4 separate regions of the Homo sapiens genome follow, and regions 2, 3 and 4 are each linked to region 1. Evidence: promoter capture Hi-C in 16 types of primary human blood cells and fetal thymus (Javierre and others, 2016). All regions are on one chromosome and are shown on one strand. The core of a region is centred on a gene start or on the middle of the fragment in contact, and the rest is flanking DNA. Distances in the headings are between cores, read along the strand shown.

Region 1 (4,811 bases), core at 1,222-3,721:
TAGTGGAAATTTCAAGGAACAGGCTGCCCAGCTCATTGGCTAGCTGAATACCGTCCTGTGTCTGCACCTGCCGGGCATGCAAAAGGTCCCCCTTGTTGCCCACGATGATGACAGGGGCTTTAGAGTCAGGGTGGACCTTCCGGATGTGCTGATAAAGGGGTCGGATGGACAAGTAGCTGTCATAGTCTGTGATGGAATAGACCAGCAGAAAACCCTCGGCCCACTGCACGCATTTGGACAGGGAATCGACGACCTGGGGGAGGCTGTCTTGGATCTGAGAAAACATCAAAATGAGATCCAGTCAAGGAAACCCTCAGTGGGAGATAAACTCAAAACAACATCAAGGCAACCCTTGAAGAAACACTTGAAAAAGAAATCTCTAAATACAGTTTTCAGTTTCCACCCAGCTTCTGCAGAAGCAGGCTTTTGATATGGAAAGAACAGATTCCCAGGCAAACTCCCTGCCTGAGTTACTTTATTAGCTGTTATCCCTGCATTATTTTTAAACCCCTTGCTTGTCAGGCAGTCTCTGGTGAACCATGGCTGACTGAAGAATGACCTCAAACCAGAATGGCTCAAGTTTTAGGAAACACTAACTCATAATAAACAAAACTTTGAAAATAAGCCAAGATAAATATCTATTCCCAAACTCATAAAAACATTTTTAACATGCACTTCTTAAGAATGTTACAGAAAGAAATTCCTTTCTTAGGGTTCTTCCACAAGACCTTTCCTCTGGAGAACGGAGTAGCAATTAGTAACTGGTTAATAAACAAGTTACATTCTAGACCCTCTGCCAAGGGGTTATCTGATTGCAATTACTGACTTGAGGGAACAGCCATTAACAGCAGCAGTTCAGCAGTGCTTGGGCCGGGCGCTGTGGCTCATGCCTATAATCCCACCACTTTGGGAGGCCGAGGTGGGCGGATCACTTGAGGTCAGGAGTTCGAGACCAGCCTGGCCAACATAGTGAAACCCCATCTCTACTAATAAATAAATAAATAGATAAATAGCTGGGAGTTCCGGCGGGTGCCTGTAGTCCCAGCTACTCGGGAGACTGAAGCAGGAGAATCGAGGAGAATCGCTGGAACCTAGGAGGCGGAAGTTGCAGTGAGCTGAGATCCAGCCACTGCACTCCAGCCTGGGCAAGAGTGAAACTCCGTCTCAAAAAAAGCAGAGCTTGCCAGGGGAGAAGAGTCTCTCCCATCAGAATCCTACCTCTTTTTTTGTTTTGTTTTGTTTTGTTTTAAACGTTTTTTTCTTTGTTAATGGTTCCATGGCTACCTCCGGAAGAAATGGTGAGACCTGCTTAAGTAGTGATGGCCCACCAGGGTTGCAAAGTGAAGTTAAGTCAGGTGCTTAACAAGAGGAGGCTGCTTCTAACCATGCCTCCCCCTTAGAGAGTTTCTAACACCCCAACCACTGGCCCCACCTGTGGACAGCCCATTCCTCCCTCTAAACGCACAGGTCGGTTTAGATGCCTTGCTCAGACCCCTGCGCCCAGCATGGGCGCCCTACGTGCTGTGCCCACTGGGGTGGTCTCACGGGTGGGGGTGAGCTGTTTGCCCCTGGCGGTTCTTACCTGGACGCCCCCGGGAGTATCCTGGATCTGCAGGGAGAGCTGGTCCCCCTCGACATAGACCAGCCGTGAATACAGCTTGCCTGGAGAATGAAGTAGAGTTTGCTTTTTAATTCTCAAACTCCCATCCGTAAAAAGAAACACGCAAGCATAAAAGCAGGGAGCGTGAAAGTATTCTCACCTGTATTCGGTTCATAGTCTCCAATGAATCTCTTGGTCAGGAAGCGCACGATCATTGCTGAAAAGGAAATAGGAAAATCAACCGAAGGAGTAGAACAAGCCTGTCAAACCCAGGCACCTCGGACAAACTGGGGGGAGTGAAGGGTGCAGAACCGTGGGCACTGCTCGCTTCCAGAGGCTCCGCAAAGCCGTGGTGCCGCGGGCTTGGCCGCGAGTACGACTGGCGGGACACCTCTCCCGCACCCCATCCCCGAACAGGCGCCAATCCCGCCGAGATCCCAGGAGTAGATGCACCAGGAAACGCCAGGGAAGCAGGCCGGGACGGACCGGGACCCACCCAGCGCGAAAGCAGCCCGATTCTACCTGCACCCGCGCCCTCTGCTTCGGCCGAGGCGCCCTCTCTCCGCAGCGCCCCCAGTGGTCGCGGCCGGAGCCGGGGAGCGAAGCCGCCCGGGGGTCCCCGCCGCACTCACCGCTCTTGCCCACGCGGCCGGCGCCCAGCACCGCCAGTTTGATGTCCTTGGGCAGTAGGTAGTCCGAGGAGGACTCGGGGATGGGTGCGAGCAGAAAGTGCCCGGACATGCTGAGCGGCCGCATGGAGCGCGTCCCGGGGTCCGGCGCGCAATCCGAGAGGGCTGGGCCTCGCCGCACCCGGAGCCGGCTCGCCAGCTGGGAGTGCGGGACTAGAGGTCCGGGACCGCGGCGGCTGCCTGCAGAACTGTCAAGGCCCGCGGCTTTTAAAGGGCTTGGTGCGCCCGGGAGCGCGGCGGCCGTCCCAGCTCCTCCTCGTCTCCGCCCCTTCCCGGAGCGGCCGGGAGGGGCGGGAGCAGAGGCCGCGGAGCTGACTATCGCCGAGGCTGTGCGCTTCGCCGGGCTGCTAGCTGCTCGCGGCTCCAGGCGCTCTGCGGCAGGACTGCGGCTCCGGGGCTCAGACCCTGGAGATACGGCCACCGTCCAGAGCGCGCGAGTGGCCTCTAGTCAGGCATTCTGCGAGTCTCCTCGCCCCGCAGCAGCCAGCCGGAGTCACTAGACCTGTGGGTGAACTTGAGATAGGAGTTACGAGTTGACGAGAGAAGAAGAAAAAGTGCAATCAGTTGGATGTTTCTGCAACAATGGGACAGATTGCTGTAAAACGCTGCCCTTTTTATTTTTAAAAGGTGCTAAGGGGCTGGGCGCGGTGGCTTACGCCTGTAATCCCAGCACTTTGGGAGGCCCAGGTGGGCAAGATCATCTGCGGTCAGGAGTTCAAGACCAGCCTGGCCAACATGGCGAAACGCTGTCTCTACTAAAAATACAAAAATTAGCGGGGCGTGGTGGTGGGCGCCTGTAATCCCAACTACTCGGGAGGCTGAGGCAGCAGAATCGCTTGAACTAGGGAGGCGGAGGTTGCAGTGAGCCGAGATGGCACCACTGCACTCCAGCCTGGACCACAAGAGCGAAACTCCGTCTCAAAAAAAAAAAAAAAAGAAAGAAAAGAAAAGATGCTAAGGGGTAACATTAATATGGGAAAAGGGCGGGGGGCGGGGGGCAAGAGCTCTGAATTAGTATCAGTGGAGGCAACTGCAGTCACTGTGACCTTGCTAGGGATAGATGAAGTCCCCTTAGGGGCAGTGATGGTTAGCATCTCAGTATCCATGCCCAGCCCCTCCTCTGCAGGCAGGGGTTGCACTGGCTCATTCCTGAACACTCATGAGCACTCCACTGGCTGGGGGCCCTGGCCCTGCACTAAGTGTCCATCATTAATACTATCCTATGTGCTTGAGTCATGCATTTGCTTCAGTATCCAAATATTTACTTCTAGGTGCATGGTGGGGTCTAGGGTGGGGTGGGGGGCAGTGTGAGGAACAGGACACAGAGCTATAGACTGGTTCTTGGATTTCTGGAGCCCACCAGAAATAGCACAGCAGAAGCCTCAGGACTTTAACCTTGAACAGTTAGAAGACCTTCATGCCTCTGACCTCCTGTGTTCCAGCCTCACTTGCCTAATCGCCTATTAGACAGCCCCACCCTAATTCATACCTTTCTCTACCCTGGTTGTACCAGTTTTTGCTGCATGACAAGCCACACCAAACTAGATGGCTTAGAACAACAATCACTTACAGTTGTTGAGCCCTTTGATGCATCTGCAGGGAGCTTCCAGGTTCTGGAAGTGGGGGCTGGCTGCCCTTGGATAGCCTTACTCATGTCTGGCAGCTGTTGGCTGTGATGAGGGAGGGTAGTGACTGAGTTACATGTCTCTTCTCATTCAGCACGTTGGCCAGGGCCTGCCTTCATGGTAGCTGAGCAGAGTTCCAAGAGAGTGGGTGGAAATGGATAAGGCCTCTTGAGACCTAGGCCTTGAGAAGGAACCCATCCCTTCTGCTGCATTCTGTTGGCCAAAGCAAGTCATGGGGCCAGCCCATATTCAAGGAGTAGGGAAATACACTCCGCCCCTTTGTGGAAACAGCAGAAAAGTCACGTGTGAAAGGGCAAGGAAGCAGAGAGTGATGGAGAATGGGGTCCATTTTTGTAATTGACCATGCTAATGAATGTGTCTCCATCCACCCAGTGGCCCAAGCCTGGGAGACATCCTTGACTCTACCCACTCTCTCACTTCCACATTGATTAATCGCCAAGTTCCATCATTTCTCCTCCTATATTTCTTGGTGTCTCCCTCTGTATCCCTACTGCTCTCATTTCTTTTTTTTTTTTTTTTTTTGAGACGGAGTCTCGCTCTGTCGCCCAGGCTGGAGTGCAGTGGCGCAATCTCGGCTCACTGCAAGCTCCGCCTCCCGGGTTCACGCCATTCTCCTGCCTCAGCCTCCCAAGTAGCTGGGACTACAGGCGCCCGCCACTACGCCCGGCTAATTTTTTGTATTTTTAGTAGAGACGGGGTTTCACCGTTTTAGCCGGGATGGTCTCGATCTCCTGACCTCGTGATCCGCCCGCCTCGGCCTCCCAAAGTGCTGGGATTACAGGCGTGAGCCACCGCGCCCGGCCTCATTTCTTATCTGCAGAATTCTGAATAATCCTGAAGTAAACTAATCTAGACTAGATGGTGACTTCAGTTTAC
Region 2 (4,811 bases), core at 1,627-4,126, 250 kb after region 1:
TGTGGCCTTATCTTTGGCCCTAAGATGTAGGATGTGCCTCAAACAAGAGGGCTGCCACTGTTAGTATTATAATCACCAGGAATAATAAGCCCTTTGAAAGCAACATTTGTGTGGTTGCTACTGTCAACGCATGGAACTTGGGCAGAGTACCGAGGCTTGTTTCTGCTGGTAAATGTCTCCAAAATGTAAACACATCTGTGGATGTTCAAACACACTCCCTCCCCTCCTGACAAGTGCTGGTCAGGGCCCAGGGCAAGAGAGCTCAGCTCAGAGCAGCCAGGGAGAGTGGAGATTGAAGTGTAAACAGGACCTCGGTGTAAGAGGATGTGTTCACTGCTTTCCCGTGCAGACCCCTCACCAACTGCGTCTCCGGCTGACAAAATGAATCCTCCCTAAGCACTGCTGCTGTGACAGGCAGAGCCCATGGCACTGTGCACAGAGCCAGGCCAGGCCTACGTGGCAGCTACTGACTCACCACTGCAGGTGCTATCTGTAGAGCTGGCCGGGGGCTGCCTCCTCACAGCTCCTAGATGTCCAAATGCCCTGAACCTTTAGCCTGGCCTGAGGTGACCAGAGCCATTGGGTAGAGCACCTACTGAGTACAAAGCCGGGAACTATGGTTGGCAAAAGGGAGAACTTAGGTTTCCACACATCTAAAATGCAAGAACTCATTCTTATCTGATTCCTGTTAGCACATGCCAGCTGTGTTATAATTGCCTGTTAGCTTTCCTGTCTCTCTCATCAGAGTGCGAGCTCCTTGAGGGCAGAAACTACACTCTTGTGTCCCTAATGCCAAAAGCCTAATAGACGTTTAAGAATGAGTAAATGGATGAATGGCTCAGATGTCATGAAAAGAATTCACAATAATCATTGGCCTTAATATGACTGTGTATTTATTTTGCACTTTATAGTTTACGATTTATAGATCATGTTCTTATTTATTTTATTTTATTTTATTATTTTATTTTATTTTTTTGAGACAGAGTCTCACTCTGTCACCCAGGCTGGAGCGCAGTGCTGCGATCTCGGCTCACTGCAACCTCTGCCTCCCAGGTTCAAGCGATTCTCCTGCCTCAGCCTCCCGAGTAGCTGGGATTACAGGTGCCCGCCACCATGCCTGGCTAATTTTTGTATTATTAGTAGAGATGGGGTTTCACCATGTTGGCCAGGCTGGTCTCAAACTCCTGACTTCAAGTGATCCGCTCACCTCGGCCCCGCAAAGTGTTGGGATTACGGGAGTGAGCCACCTCACCTGGCCTTACAATTTACAGAATGCTTTCAATTAAATTATCACACTTGACCTTCACCCCTGACCTGTGAGGTCGGTGTTATTGCTCCTCTCAAAGATGAAGGCACTGAGGCCCAGAGGCCATATTAATAAATTTAGTTAGATAATTGATGGTGGAATGGGTGGGGTCCCTTCCACTAAACCATACAGCCCGATGACAATGAACAAAGAAGGGCTTTACAAAGACATGGCTTTATCCACTCACCCACCCATCCCTTCATTTATTTATTCACCAGCATTTAATATACTAAGCACTTTCTTTAAACATATTTTGGTAGCAGCACAAAGGAGTGGAATGAGCTCAAGTCCTGGGATCATCCTGGGTTTGCGTCCAGGCCCCTTTAGTTCCCAGCAGGGTGCTCTTGGGAACCTAAGCACCTCTCTGAGCCTCAGCTTCATCACAGGTCACGCAGCCAACACAGTCTTACCTAGCGAGGCCATGAGGAGTAGGATGCAGCCCCTTGGTTTCCAGCTAGGGAGCATTGATCTAGTTAAGGAGAAAAACACAAAAACGCATCATTGTAACTAGTGTGGTCCATGCTAGAATGGAGTTAAACTCCACTCGCTAGAAGAGTCAGGGAAGTTTCCAGAGGGAGCTTAACGCAAGCGTCATCAGGCAGATCCAGGAAAGGAAAAATCATTCCCAGGAGAGGAAATGCCTGTCCTGGATTGAGTTTAATTTTGTTTTTTGTTTTTGTTTTTGTTTTTTGTTTTAGACGGAGTCTCACTCTGTCACCCAGGCTGGAGTGCAGTGGCGTGATATTTGCTCACTGAAACCTCCACCCCCTGGGTTCAAGCGATTCTCCTGCCTCAGCCTCCCTAGTAGCTGGGATTATAAGCCTGAGCCACTGCACCCGGCTGGATTCACTTTAGATCAGCAGTCCCCAACCTTTTTGGAAGCAGGGACCGGTTTCATGAAAGACATTTTTTCCAGGGTCTGGGGAACAGGGGTGGGAGACGGTTTTGGGATGAAACTGTTCCACCTCAGATCATCGGGCATTAGATTCTCATAAGGAGCGCACACCTAGATCCCTTGCAACCTAGATCCCTCACATGTGTAGTCCACAATAGGGTTCACGCTCCTGTGAGAATCTAATGATGTGGCTGATCTGACAGGAGGCGGAGTTCAGGCAGTGATGCAAGCGATGGGGAGCCGCTGTAAATACAGAAGAAGCTTCCCTAGCTCTCTAGCTCACAGGCCCCTCACGTCTTTCTGGGTAGCCCGGTTCCTAACAGGCCATGCTCCACCCAGTCTGTGGCCCTGGGGCTGGGACCCCTGTTTTAGATGACATTAAACATTTTTATGAACACCTTTCTAAAACTGATTTCAGATTTCAGATTTCCTTTGAATTATTCTAGAATACAAAAAGCAACTTTGCCTCGTGCCCTCACATCTTCTCCATGAATCCCTTCAGGCCTCGGGAGGGCTGCTTGCCCTGCACTGAGCCGTGGCTGCCCTCCTTCCTCTCCGCCACCTCACTTTCCCTTGCATCAGTTCCCTCCACTCTGGCCTCACTCAGCGCGCTCAGCACTGTCACAGCCCTGCTCTCTGCCCCCGACTGCTGCTCCCATTGCGTCTGACCTTGCTGGCCACACCTGCCAGGCACCTCTCTCCGTGACATGCTTAATTATTGCTTTCCTCTTTTCTTTCTTTCTTTTTTTTATGGAGTTTTGCTATGGCATAGTCTCAGCTCACTGCAACCTCCGCCTCCCGGGTACGAGCGATTCTCCTGCCTCAGCCTCCCAAGTAGCTGGGATTACAGGCACCTGCCACCATGCCCTGCTAATTTTTTTGTATTTTTAGTAGAGACGGACGGGGTTTCACCATGTTGGCCAGGCTGGTCTCGAACTCCTGACCTCAGGTGATCTGCCCGCCTTGGCCTCCCAAACTGCTGGAATTACAAGCATGAACCACCGTGGCTGGCCAACTTTCCTCTTTTCTCTCTGCCTTTTTTTCCTTACTGCTGCTATGCTTGATGGCTTTTGTGTTAGAAAAGCTTGGCCCGGACAGCCACACTCTGTCAATAGTAGCTTTCTGGTTGTTTCCTGCTTGGCAGATTGACCCACATTCTCACGCTTCCCTCAGCCTTCAGCTGTGCACAGGTGTATACAGGTGCAACATGACTGCTTACCTGGGAAGGTTTTCTTCTGTGCTTTCAGGTTTGTAGGTATTTTTGAGATACTGGGTGTGCCGGTGGAAGTGGTGCCTCCAGAATTTGGGGAATGGGACAGGTGGAAGGTAGTGGGATTTGAGGGGTGCTTGGAAAACCTTGGTGAGGAAGAGAGTCTTGAGCCAGAGTCTGTTAGAAAGGAAGGCCCTGCTGGCCGGACATGGTGGCTCACGCCTGTAATCCCAGCACTTTGGGAGGCCAAGGTGGGCAGATCACCTGGGGTCAGGGGGTCGAGACCAGCCTGACCAACATGGAGAAACCCCATCTCTACTAAAAAAAATACAAAAAATTAGCCAGGCGTGGTGGTGCATGCCTGTAATCCCAGCTACTCAGGAGGCTGAGGCAGGAGAATCGCTTTAATCCAGGAGGCAGGGGTTGTGGTGAGCCAAGATTGCACCATTGCTCTCCAGCCTGGGCAACAAGAGCAGAACTCTGTCAAAAAAGAAAGAAAGAAAGGAAGAATGAAAGAAAGAAAGAAAAAGAAAGAAAGAAAGAAAGAAGGAAGGAAGGAAGGAAGGAAGAAGAAAGAAGGAGAAAAGAAAAGAAAAAGAAAGAAAGGCCCTGCTGCACCGCAGGCAGCCAGAGGAATCCTGGAGGAGATCGTGGGGGAGGGGAATTTTCCAGGACCTAGGGAAACCGGTGCTTCTTTGGAATGGTCTGCGGAGTGCTGACCACCCTGGTCTCCTTCGTGTTTCAGGTGAAGCCTGGTCTGGCCACTGTATTTGCAGGGTTGGCAGATATTTTCAGTAAAGGGACAGATAGTAAATATTTTAGGCTTTGCGGGCCATACGGCCTCTGTCACAACCACTCCACTGCTGTTTGGTGCAAAAGCAGCCATCGACCGACCGTACATAAACCAATGGGCCTGGCTGTGTTCCAGGAAAACTTTATTTACAAAACAAGCCACAGCTAAGTTTCACCTAGTAGTTTGCCAACTTCTGCTCATGCAATGGTGTTCCCAACTCACCCGGTGAATGCCACACGCTCCCCAAACCTCACCACTGCAGCAGAGGTCACAGCATGACAAGGGCAATAGTACTACCCTGTAGCTGCCATTCACCCGGAGTTCACTTTGAAACAGGCACTGGGAGAAGAGCTTTACTTCGTTTAATCTCCCCAACAACCCAATGTTGGTTTTCTTGTGATTTTTACAGATTATGAAACAGGTCTCAGAGAGGTTAAATAACTTGCCCAAGGCCACTCATCTGAGCGTGGTTGATGGAAACAGCCTGGTGGGCAGAGACTTGACCTTCACAGTTAATCATCATGACCAACCCTCACACCCACATCTTATTTTAAATATTTATTTTTAAATCTTTTTTTTTTTTAAGACAGAGTTTCGCTCTGTCGCT
Region 3 (4,811 bases), core at 1,167-3,666, 230 kb after region 1:
CAGTGGGAGACTGTCCAGGTGCGGAGTGTGGGTGGGAGCATCCAACCCCAAAAGGTGCCCTGGAGGCAGAAGCTTCCAAGGACCATGCAGACAGAAGGAGGCTGCAGGGCTGGAGGAGGCGGGAAGGAAAGGAGGTGAGACCCACAGTCCTCGCCCTTTGCAGTAGCTGGAATGGAAAGGCAGGAGGGACGAAATGGGGCGCAGGGAGGATGTTATCAGGGAGGAGGGAGGCCCTAGTTGTGACTGGGGAGAGGGACCCGCCTCCCCGCTGTTGGGCCCAGCTAGCTGCACCCCGCTGGACACAGGCCTGGCCACCTCTCCTACACGGAAGTTGAAGGTGGAGTTAGCTCCATTTACTTCCACAAGAGAAAGCAGAGCTTGATTTCACTGTTAAAAGCCATTTTCCCGACCTGAGAAGTGTTGGGCGCTGTCTCCTTCCTGTCTTCTGCCCTGTGGCTTTCTTTTCCCTCTAGTGAGGAGAGCAGAGTAAGGAGATTTTTTTTTTTTTTTTTTTTTTTTTTTTTTTTTTTTTTTTTTTTTTTTTTTTGGAGACGGCGTCTCGCTCTGTCGCCCAGGCTGGAGTGCGGTGGTGCGATCTTGGCTCACCGCAAGCTCCGCCTCCCGGGTTCAAGCAATTTTTCTGCCGCAGCCTCCTGAGTAGCTCCCAAAGTGCTAGGGTTACAGGCATCAGCCACCGCGCCTGGCCGAAGCCTGCTTTTTGTTAGTCTCTGGGGCAGACCTGACTCGGGCCAGGGAGCTCTGGGGAGCCTGTGGTCGGGCCTGCGGAGCGTCAGGGAGCACGGGCCTGCGCCCTGGGCCTCTCCTGCCCAATTTTGGCAGTCACTGTTGGAGAATGCAGCAGCTGAGCTCCTTGTTGGAGGAAAATGAGCCTAAGGCTTATTTTCTCAGGCTTTAAGTAAACGCTCTGCGGTTTAAAAGCTTTTGGAAAATGCCTGTTTATGGGAGTCTATTTTATGTACAGGTGTCAGCAATCTATCTGGAGAAAAAGTGTTTCCTGGAAGCCTAGGAACATGGCTGGGACCCCCGGGTGGACGGGAAATGCCTCAGCTCCAGCTCACTTTTAGGGACCAAATAGTTCTGGCTGAGGAATGGAAGGAGCATGGTCGGGGGATTTTACCCCAAAGGCCTGGCTCTAATATTTTGCCCTGTTTGCCTCCACCTTTGGGACTGGGCTTTGGGAACAGACAATGCCACAGGGTTGAAGAGCCTGAGTGTCTGAATCTTGCCCTGTTACAGCCCTCTCTCCCCTTGATGTCCTCAAGACATGGAGGTCAAGGCAAATGTCTGCTTTGGATCCTGATAAGCTAATGTGGACCGTGTTGAGAATGCCTCTTTATTGGGCAGGCTGGGGGCCCAGGACCAAGTCACGTGGCTGTTCCCCCAAGCCCACGCATACATCTTTCCGTGGGAGGAAAAGCCTATCTGGGAAGAAGCTGCCCACCAGGAAGAGCCAGGGGCTGGGAGCCTTCACCCCAGGACCTGAGACATGGCAGGTCTGGACCAGCTGCTACCTAGACCACCTGGGGGTAGGGGAGACCCCCATAGATGGGGAGACCGGAGGCTCCCTTGCCTCTCAGCAGGTGGAGGGAGAGAAGAGAGGCAGAGCTTCTCTGGGCAGGACAGTCCCAGCCAGGGGCACTCGACCCCGTTGGCCCCAGCCTTTCCCACATTTTTGATAACATTGTTTTTATTGGTAAATACGCCTCACATACATAAACTTGCGTAAAAGTGTGTGTCCAGTTGAATGAAGAATTATGATGTGGACACCTGGGTAATACTCCTTAGGTCAGGAACTAGACTAGAACTTGCACCCTGGAAGCCCCTGGGTGTGTCTCCCCGGCCAAACCCTTCCTCCTTGCAGAGTCATCATCCTCCTAGCTTTTAGGATGGTCATCTCTTTTCTTTCCTTTATAGTCTGATCGCTTATGTATGTATTCTTAAACAATGCACTTTAGCTTTGGCTGTTTTTCAGCTCTATAGAAACGGAATCATACTCTATGGATTCTTTTTTTTTTTTTTTTTTTTTTTTTTTTTTTGAGATGGAGTCTCACTCTGTCTCCCAGGCTGGAGTGCAGTGGCGCAATCTTGGCTCATTATAACGTCCACCTCCTGGGTTCAAGCAATTCTCCTGCCTCAGACTCCTGAGAAGCTGGGATTATAGACGCCCGCCACCATGCCTGGCTAATTTTTGTATTTTTAGTAGAGGTGGGGTTTCACCATGTTGGCCAGGCTGATCTCGAACTCCTGACCTCAAATAATCCACCCACCTTGGCCTCCCAAAGTGTTGGGATTACAGGCGTGAGCCACCGTGCCCGGCCTGGGTGCTTTTATCTTGCTTCTTTCCTTCAACATTGCTTTTTGAGATGCATCTATATGTGTGGCTTAAGTTCACTGAGTTTTCATTGCGGTATAGCATTTTCTTGTATGAATCTGCCACAACTACTTATTCACTTCCCTGTAAATGGAAAATTGGCTGTGGAATGGGTTGTTAGCAGTGGACAAGGCTGTGATGAATATTTCTGAGGGTGAGTCACTGTGCACACGTGCTCAAGTTTCTCTATAGTCTGCACCTAGAATTGGAAGTTCTGGATTTCCATATCCATAATTTTAAACATAATGCCACTCTTTTCCAAAGGGATAAATTGGGTTGTCCAAATCTTCATGGGTTTGTCTATTTATCATTTTAGTTTTGTCATTTTTTTGCTTTATATATTTTGAAGCTATGTTATTAATACATAAAATTATATCTTTTGGTGAATTGAGCATATTCAAAAACACTTTTGGCTTACATTCAAAAATGTCCCTAAGAGCACTGTGCACTGCCAACACTGAGCAAGAGCCCCGTGTAGAAAACTCACCAAATGGTATCTTCGTATCATTAAGAAGTGACCCAAATGATCTCTGCTAATGCCTTTTGCTTTTAAGCCTATGTTGTATTTGTAACAGGATCTTGGGAAAAAGAGACCACAGAAGAGCAAAGTTGGTAAGTGTGAGCCATAGAAGGTTGGAGAGAGGAGCAAGGTTGCTCCCCAGTGAGGTCTTGGCCCCTCTCCCTTCTCTTCGGAGATGGCATCTTATTATAATTCCTCCAGGCTCAGGGATACAGAAGTGTCCTCAGTTCTCTCCCTCAAGGGAACTGGAATGAGGCACAGGAGGTGGAGCAAAACCTTGAGGACAGCCACGTGCACCTGCCGGTTCCCAGAAGCTGAGCAACAGAGACCCAGCTGTGCACAGCTGTGGCCTCTCCACATGCTCACCCGCCACCCCAGGGGAGTTGGTGGCTGGTGCCTCCCTCCCTGAATTTTTTCCTTGCGTGTTGATTTTCCTTGAGCTCTGGGTGTGAGAATGCTCTCAGGTGCTGTGTTAGAATGATGTGCTTCCTCTCAGCTCACACAGAGGGCCAGATATTTGTCAATTTTGTTGTTCTTTCATTCATGTATGTATTAGTCAATCAGTCAACAAGTATTAATTGAGCACTGCTCTGTGCAGGCATTGGGCTGTTCTGGTTCTTCTTTTTGAGTTTCTTGGTCGCTGTTTATGGACAGTAGATAACACTGTGTTTGAAAGGCCAGAGATGCACTCTGAGGTCCTGCGGTGGCCAGGAAGGCTTTGGCCAGTTAGTAGGGGAGGGTGAGCAAGGGAGGTCTCCCCACTTCCTCGGACTCTTCTCTGTGCAAGTCGGAAACCTCTGATGTGAACATTTCTTGCTACAGGATAACTCTGCTCCTGAGAACCAAGAAGGCTGGTGACAGGAAAATGCCCCCCTGAAGCTGGCTGGGGATCTCACTTAGGGGTGACATAAAGTGAGGGATGTGCTGCCAAATGTCCTTGATTCTTTCTCCCCAAACTAACAAGATCTTAATTAAGCTTCACTCCGGCAGACAATTCAGAGATAAGCTAAGTGCCAGTTGCCGGGGCGCTTCTAGAGGCCAAGGCTTTAACAGCCACCATCCAGTCATGGGAAGACTAGGACTGGGAAGTGGAATTTTATTGCCAAAGTGGGATGCTTTTGAGAGTAAAAGAGGTGCTATTAATACGTATACAGGAATAACAGCTGTAAACCAGAACTGTCTTAGGCAAACTGGGATGTATGATCCCCCTTTCTAGAATGGTGTTTTTCAGAAGCACTCTGCAATGCAAAAAATGTAGTCTGCTTTTCGGCATGTAACTCAGAACTCCTGCTGATGAACAGGAATCCTCCAAGACAAATCTGACTCCTGCTTCCATTTCCCCTAGAGCACAGAACAGGAGCACAGCCCCAGATGCTGCTGGGTTGGGGCCACTTTATAAAGCCCCTCTGGACCTCCAGGACATGGAAAAGATGCATGCAATGCTCCCCTGGGGAAGTAGCAACCAGCCTGGAATCTCAGGGACTCTTTGAAGATGTGCGGGCAGGAGGGAGGAAATTCTTGTAGCTGGGTGGGGTCAGAACACAGGCCTTTGCTCCACACTGACATTTTCTTCAAAGGTCAAGAATGTGTTTGGGCTTTGTAGATGTTTTGCCAGAATATGATTTAGGGGAAGTTCCAAGCCCGGAGATTCAGTTTTTAAGTCGGCTGTCTTCTGTTTCCATGCCACAGTGCATTCATTGATAGTATTTTTAGAAAAGGATCTTTGAAAATGGGAAGGCAGGTATGACAGCAGGGTGATTCATTGGCTGTGCCTCTGCACTGGATGTCTTGGGGGCTGGGCATGAGGTCCCGGACGCGTGTGGATCACAGAAGGGCATGGGCTGGTACCATGAAGCAGGCAGGAACCCAGAGCACTGCAACTGCGCTGTGAACTCTTAG
Region 4 (4,811 bases), core at 638-3,137, 190 kb after region 1:
CTCACACCTGTAATCCCAGCACTTTGGGAGGCCAAGGTGGGCAGATCACCTGAGGTCAGGAGTTTGAGACCAGCCTGACCAACATGGTGAAACCCCATCTCTACTAAAAATACAAAATTAGCTGGACGTGGTGGCGCATGCCTATAATCCCAGCAACTCGGGAGGCTGAGGCAGGAGCATCACTTGAACCTGGGAGGCGGAGGTTGCGGTGAGCCGAGATCACGCCATTGCACTCCAGCCTGGGCAACAAGAGTGAAACTCTGTCTCAAAAAGAAAAAGATGATGAACTTAAATGTTGTGCGTTCTGACTGCTCCACCCACCTGACGTTTTCCCCCTCCTACCTCTCTCTCAGGCCTCTTTATTCCCTAAGACACAACAATATTGAAATTAGGCCAATTAATAACCTTACAATGGCTTCTAAGGGTTCAAGTGAAAAGAAATATTTACATGTCTCTCACTTTAAGTGAAAAGCTAGAAATGATTAAGCTTAATGAATAGGGCACGTTGAAAGCCAAGATAGGCTGAAAGCTAGGCCTCTTGCACCAAACAGCCAAGTTAGGAGTGCAAAGAAAAAGTATTTGAAGAGAATTAAAAGAGCTACTCTAGTGAACCCACAAATGATAAGAAAGCAAAACAGCCTTATTGCCAAATGGAGAAGTTTGAGTGGCCTGGTTAGAAGATCAAACTAGCCACAACATTCCCTTAAGCCAAAGCCTAATCTAAAACCAGGGCCTGTCTTCAGTTCTATGAAGGCTGAGAGAGGTAAGGAAGCTGCAGAAGAAAATTTTGAAGCTAGCAGGGGTGGGTTCATGAGGTTTTAAGGAAAGAAGCTGTCTCCATGAGATAAAAGTACAAGGTGAAGCAGCAGTAAGTTATCTAGATTGTCTAGCTAAAATAGTTGCTGATGGTGGCTACACTAAACAACAGATTTTCAATATAGAGGAAACAGTCTTCTATTGGAAAAAGAGGGTGTTTAGGACTGTCATAGCTAGAGAGAAGTGAGCGCCCAGCTTCAAAGGACAGGCTGATTCTCTGGTTAGCGGTTAATGCAGCTGGTGACTTTTAAGTTGAAGCCAGTATTCATTTACCATCCCTAAAATCCTTGAGTTCTTAAGAATTACGCTGAATCTACCCTGCCTGTGCTGTAGAAAAGAAACAAAGCCTGGATGACAGCACACCTGTTTATAGCATAATTTACTGAATATTTTAAGCTCACTGTTGAGACCTATCACTCAGAAACAAAGATTTCTTTCAAAATATTACTGCTTATTGACAATACATGTGATCACCCAAGAGCTCTGATGGAGACGCACAAAGAGATTAATGTTGTTTTCATGCCTGCTAACATAAGATCCATTCTGCAGCCCATGAATCAATGAGTTATTTTGACTTTCAATTGTTATTATTTAATATTTTTTAAGTCTACAGCTGCCATAGATTGAGATTCCTCTGATGGATCTGAGCAAAGTAAATTGAAACCCCTCTGGAAAGGATTCACCATTCTGGGTGCCATTAGAATATTTGTGATTCATGGGAGGAGGTTAAAATATTAACATTAAAAACAGTTTGGAAGAAGTTCATTCCAACCCTCATTGATGACTTTGAGGGATTCGAACTTCAGTGGAGGAAGTCACTGTAGATGTGGTGGAAACAGCAAGAGAACAAGAATTAGAAGAGGATCCTGACGATCTGACTGAATTGCTGCAATCTCATGATCAAACTTGAATGAATGAGAAGTTGCTTCTTATGGAAGATCAAAGAATGTGGTTTGTTGAGATGGAATCTACTCCTGGTTAACATGCTGTGAACATTGTTGAAATGGCAACAAAGGATTTAGAATATTACATAACCTTAGTTGATAGCAGCGTCAGGGTTTGAGAGGATTGACTCAATTTTGAAAGAAGTTCTGTGGATAAAATGCTGTCAAACAGCATCACATGCTACAGAGAAATCTGTGAAAGGAAAAGCCAGTTGATGTGGCAGACATTCTTGTCTTATTTTGAGAAATTGCCTCAGCCTGGATCTTGCAGTGAGCCAAGATCGCGCCACTGCACTCCAGCCTGGGCGACAGAGCAAGACTCCGTCTCAAAAAAAAAAAAAAAAAAAAAATTGCCTCAGCCACCCCGACCTTCAGCAACCACCATCCTGATCAGTCAGCAGTCATCATCCTTGAGGCAAGACCCTCCACCAGCAGAAAGATTATGATTCACTGAAGGCTCAGATGATCATTTTTTAAGCAATAAACTATTTTTAAATTAAGATATGGACTTTTTTCAGACATAATGCTGTTACATAATACACTACAGTATAGTATAAGCATAACCTTTATATGCACTGGGAAACCAAAAATGTGTATGACTTGCTTTATTGCGGTCTTCACTTTATTGCGGTCCTCACTTTATTGCGGTGGCCTGGAACTGAACTTGCTGCGTGTCCAAGATATGCCTGTATTTCTGTCACTACTCTGTGGGATCCAATGATTAGTGACAGTACGCTGGGAGCTAAGCTCCTTGCCTTCTCATCTTTCCTCTCTCAAGTCTCTTTACTCTCCCTTTATTCCGTGTGTGCCTGACCCCACTTCTGGGACCAGTCCTGTTCTTACCAGGTATTGAAGAAGATCCATGCATGGCCAGGTGACTCAGCATCACATTGTCATGGCCACAGTCCATCTCTGAGTATCTGCCCTAGATTTAATGATTGAATGGCTTCCTGTTTGTGAGATGAAGGCCCTACCTTTTGCTTCATTTTCCTAACTAGATCCATATCTTATTCCCCTGTAGCCAGTTCCAGTAATGGTAACTTGTGTAGTATCATGTCAAAATCATATCAGCAATAGGGATTTGCTTTGCTGTAGTCAGCATCTGCAACCACCTGTTGGCACACACACCCCCATGCAAGTCTTCTGGAATCTGAGTTGGGTGGGTCCTTCCATCTGTTGAGAAGTTGATGCCTCCTGCCTCCCTGCCTGCATGCCTACCTGGATCTCCAGATGTCCATCACTCAGTACTATGTTTTATATACATGTTGGGGTATGTCATGAGCCTCATTTGTGCCTGTGACCCATCCCCCATTTTAACACATGCTGGAGTTCAGGTTCTGCTGCCTAAATGTCCTCTCATTGCTTATATCTCACTGAGTCACCTTAGTGTCTTTCTCACATAAAGCATTCTATTTGCCCTGACCCCCTCATTGTAATGTGTCACAATTAATCCTTGTTGATGGTACATTTTAAAAGGGCATGGAATTCAGTCCTTGGAACTGAATGTCTGTACAATTATTAAGCTTTTCTGTGTGGTCAGGACTTCTCTGCTGACAGGATGTTGGTAAGTTCTTAAGTGCCTGTGGCTGGGGTATTGCATTCATCTGTGGCAGAGCTTGCAAATAGTGTCCTCTGGATCAGATTCCATCTAAAGAACTCTGGCTCACACAATTTATAAAAATAGGAAATTTACTTTAAAAAACGTTTCTGACTATTGAGAAAAACAGTTCAGATTCCACTGGATTCCAGGGTCTGCATTCCATCCCATAGTGGTGTTGCTTGCCTGCGGCTGGGTAGTTGGTATTCCGGTTGAGGGTGGTTGCAGGCAATGTCAGTCCTTCCTCCAGCTCCTCCCCTAGTCCTTTGGAATACTTAGCACCTGATGGCTCTGGGAAGGACTCCCCCTTGGGCTACTGGAGAAGGGAGTTTCTGGAGTTTGGTTCAAATTCCAAGTCTTTGACCAGTCACTGACAGGTGCTAAAGAGCATATAAAACCCCAGCTACCTTGTGGTCAAGAGAAATCTGAGGTGAAATTTAGACTCTGGGGTTCTCTGACACTGAGCTGAAGCCACTCTTCCTGGGATTTTGCTTGAGATTGAATCCTTACCTGGTTTCCTTCCCTCTCCCCCCACTCCCCCCCGCCCCACACAGGGAGCACGACATTAAATCACAGGCCTGGGACTTTCTGTCTCAGGGTCTGCTCTAGGGAACAGGACCTAAAATGAGAGGATGTTGTAGTCTCATAATAATCATCCATTTAAAAATATATTCTAATTTCCCTTGTGATGTTCTGTTTGTCCTATGGCTTATTTGGAAATGTGTTGCTTAGTTTCCATATCTGGGGGGATTTTCTAGTTTTTTTTTTTATCAGAGGACATACTCTGATTTCATCTTTGAAATTTATCGAGACTTCTTTATTGTCCAGTACATTAGTGAATGTTTCGGTTGAACTTGAGAAGAATGTGTATAGTGCAGTTTGAGGTTGAGTATTCCATAAATGTCAATTAAGTCCATAGTTAGGGTGTTCATATTTTCCTATCCTTACTGATTTTTTTTGTTAGTGAGAGAAGTCTGTTAAAGATTCCAATTCTGATTATGCACTTGTCTATTTCTATAATTCTTTCAAATTTTGGAGCACATGCTTTTAAGATTGTTATGTTCTCTTAGTTAATTGACCTTCATTATTATGAAGTATTCTTTATTTCTGGTAAGACTCCTTATCTTGTATGCTTTGTCTGACATTAGTATAGCCAGTTTACTTAGGATTAGTGTTTACATGGTATGTCTTTTCCCATCCTTCTTTCTTTTTTGAATAGTTTTAAATTATAACTAGACATTATCAAGAAAGGCAACCCCCTGTTATGTTAGAATACAACATGGATGCAGTTTGTCATTTTAAAGATGTAAAAGCAAGAAAATGCATACAGTTATGCTCCGTATCAGTTGGTTCCAGGACCCTCACATAGAGCAAAATGCATGGTTGCTCAAGTCCCTGATATAAAATGGCATAGCATTTGCATATGACCTATGCACATCCTCCTATGTACTTTG

The links. The method cuts DNA at HindIII sites, captures the fragments that hold promoters and counts their contacts. A CHiCAGO score of 5 or more calls a contact.
Region 2: a contact is called between a fragment that was not itself captured here and the fragment with the promoter of RASL11A in region 1, in 7 of 17 cell types (erythroblasts, megakaryocytes, endothelial precursors and 4 more). The highest score is 8.9, in erythroblasts.
Region 3: a contact is called between a fragment that was not itself captured here and the fragment with the promoter of RASL11A in region 1, in 1 of 17 cell types (megakaryocytes). The highest score is 6.7, in megakaryocytes.
Region 4: a fragment that was not itself captured here is called in contact with the fragment with the promoter of RASL11A in region 1 in 1 of 17 cell types (erythroblasts); the score reaches 5.5 in erythroblasts.

What each region holds. Positions count from the first base shown.
Region 1 is chr13:27,268,490-27,273,300 of GRCh38, reverse strand. It overlaps RASL11A (RAS like family 11 member A), which reads right to left and starts at 2,471. Exons shown (of 4, transcript NM_206827.2): 1 at 2,233-2,471; 2 at 1,761-1,817; 3 at 1,583-1,662; 4 at 1-274. The coding sequence starts at 2,356. RefSeq lists silencers at 2,071-2,300, 2,341-2,560 and an enhancer at 2,509-3,009. The HindIII fragment of the contact is 11,897 bases long and covers 1-4,811 here.
Region 2 is chr13:27,018,306-27,023,116 of GRCh38, reverse strand. No RefSeq gene overlaps it. Among named protein-coding and RNA genes, the nearest start is that of USP12-AS1, 100 kb to the left of the region's middle. The HindIII fragment of the contact is 823 bases long and covers 2,465-3,287 here.
Region 3 is chr13:27,036,204-27,041,014 of GRCh38, reverse strand. No RefSeq gene overlaps it. Among named protein-coding and RNA genes, the nearest start is that of USP12-AS1, 87 kb to the left of the region's middle. RefSeq lists an enhancer at 4,019-4,811. The HindIII fragment of the contact is 2,949 bases long and covers 942-3,890 here.
Region 4 is chr13:27,078,309-27,083,119 of GRCh38, reverse strand. All of the region lies in intron 6 of USP12 (ubiquitin specific peptidase 12), which reads left to right. Among named protein-coding and RNA genes, the nearest start is that of USP12-AS1, 45 kb to the left of the region's middle. The HindIII fragment of the contact is 2,796 bases long and covers 490-3,285 here.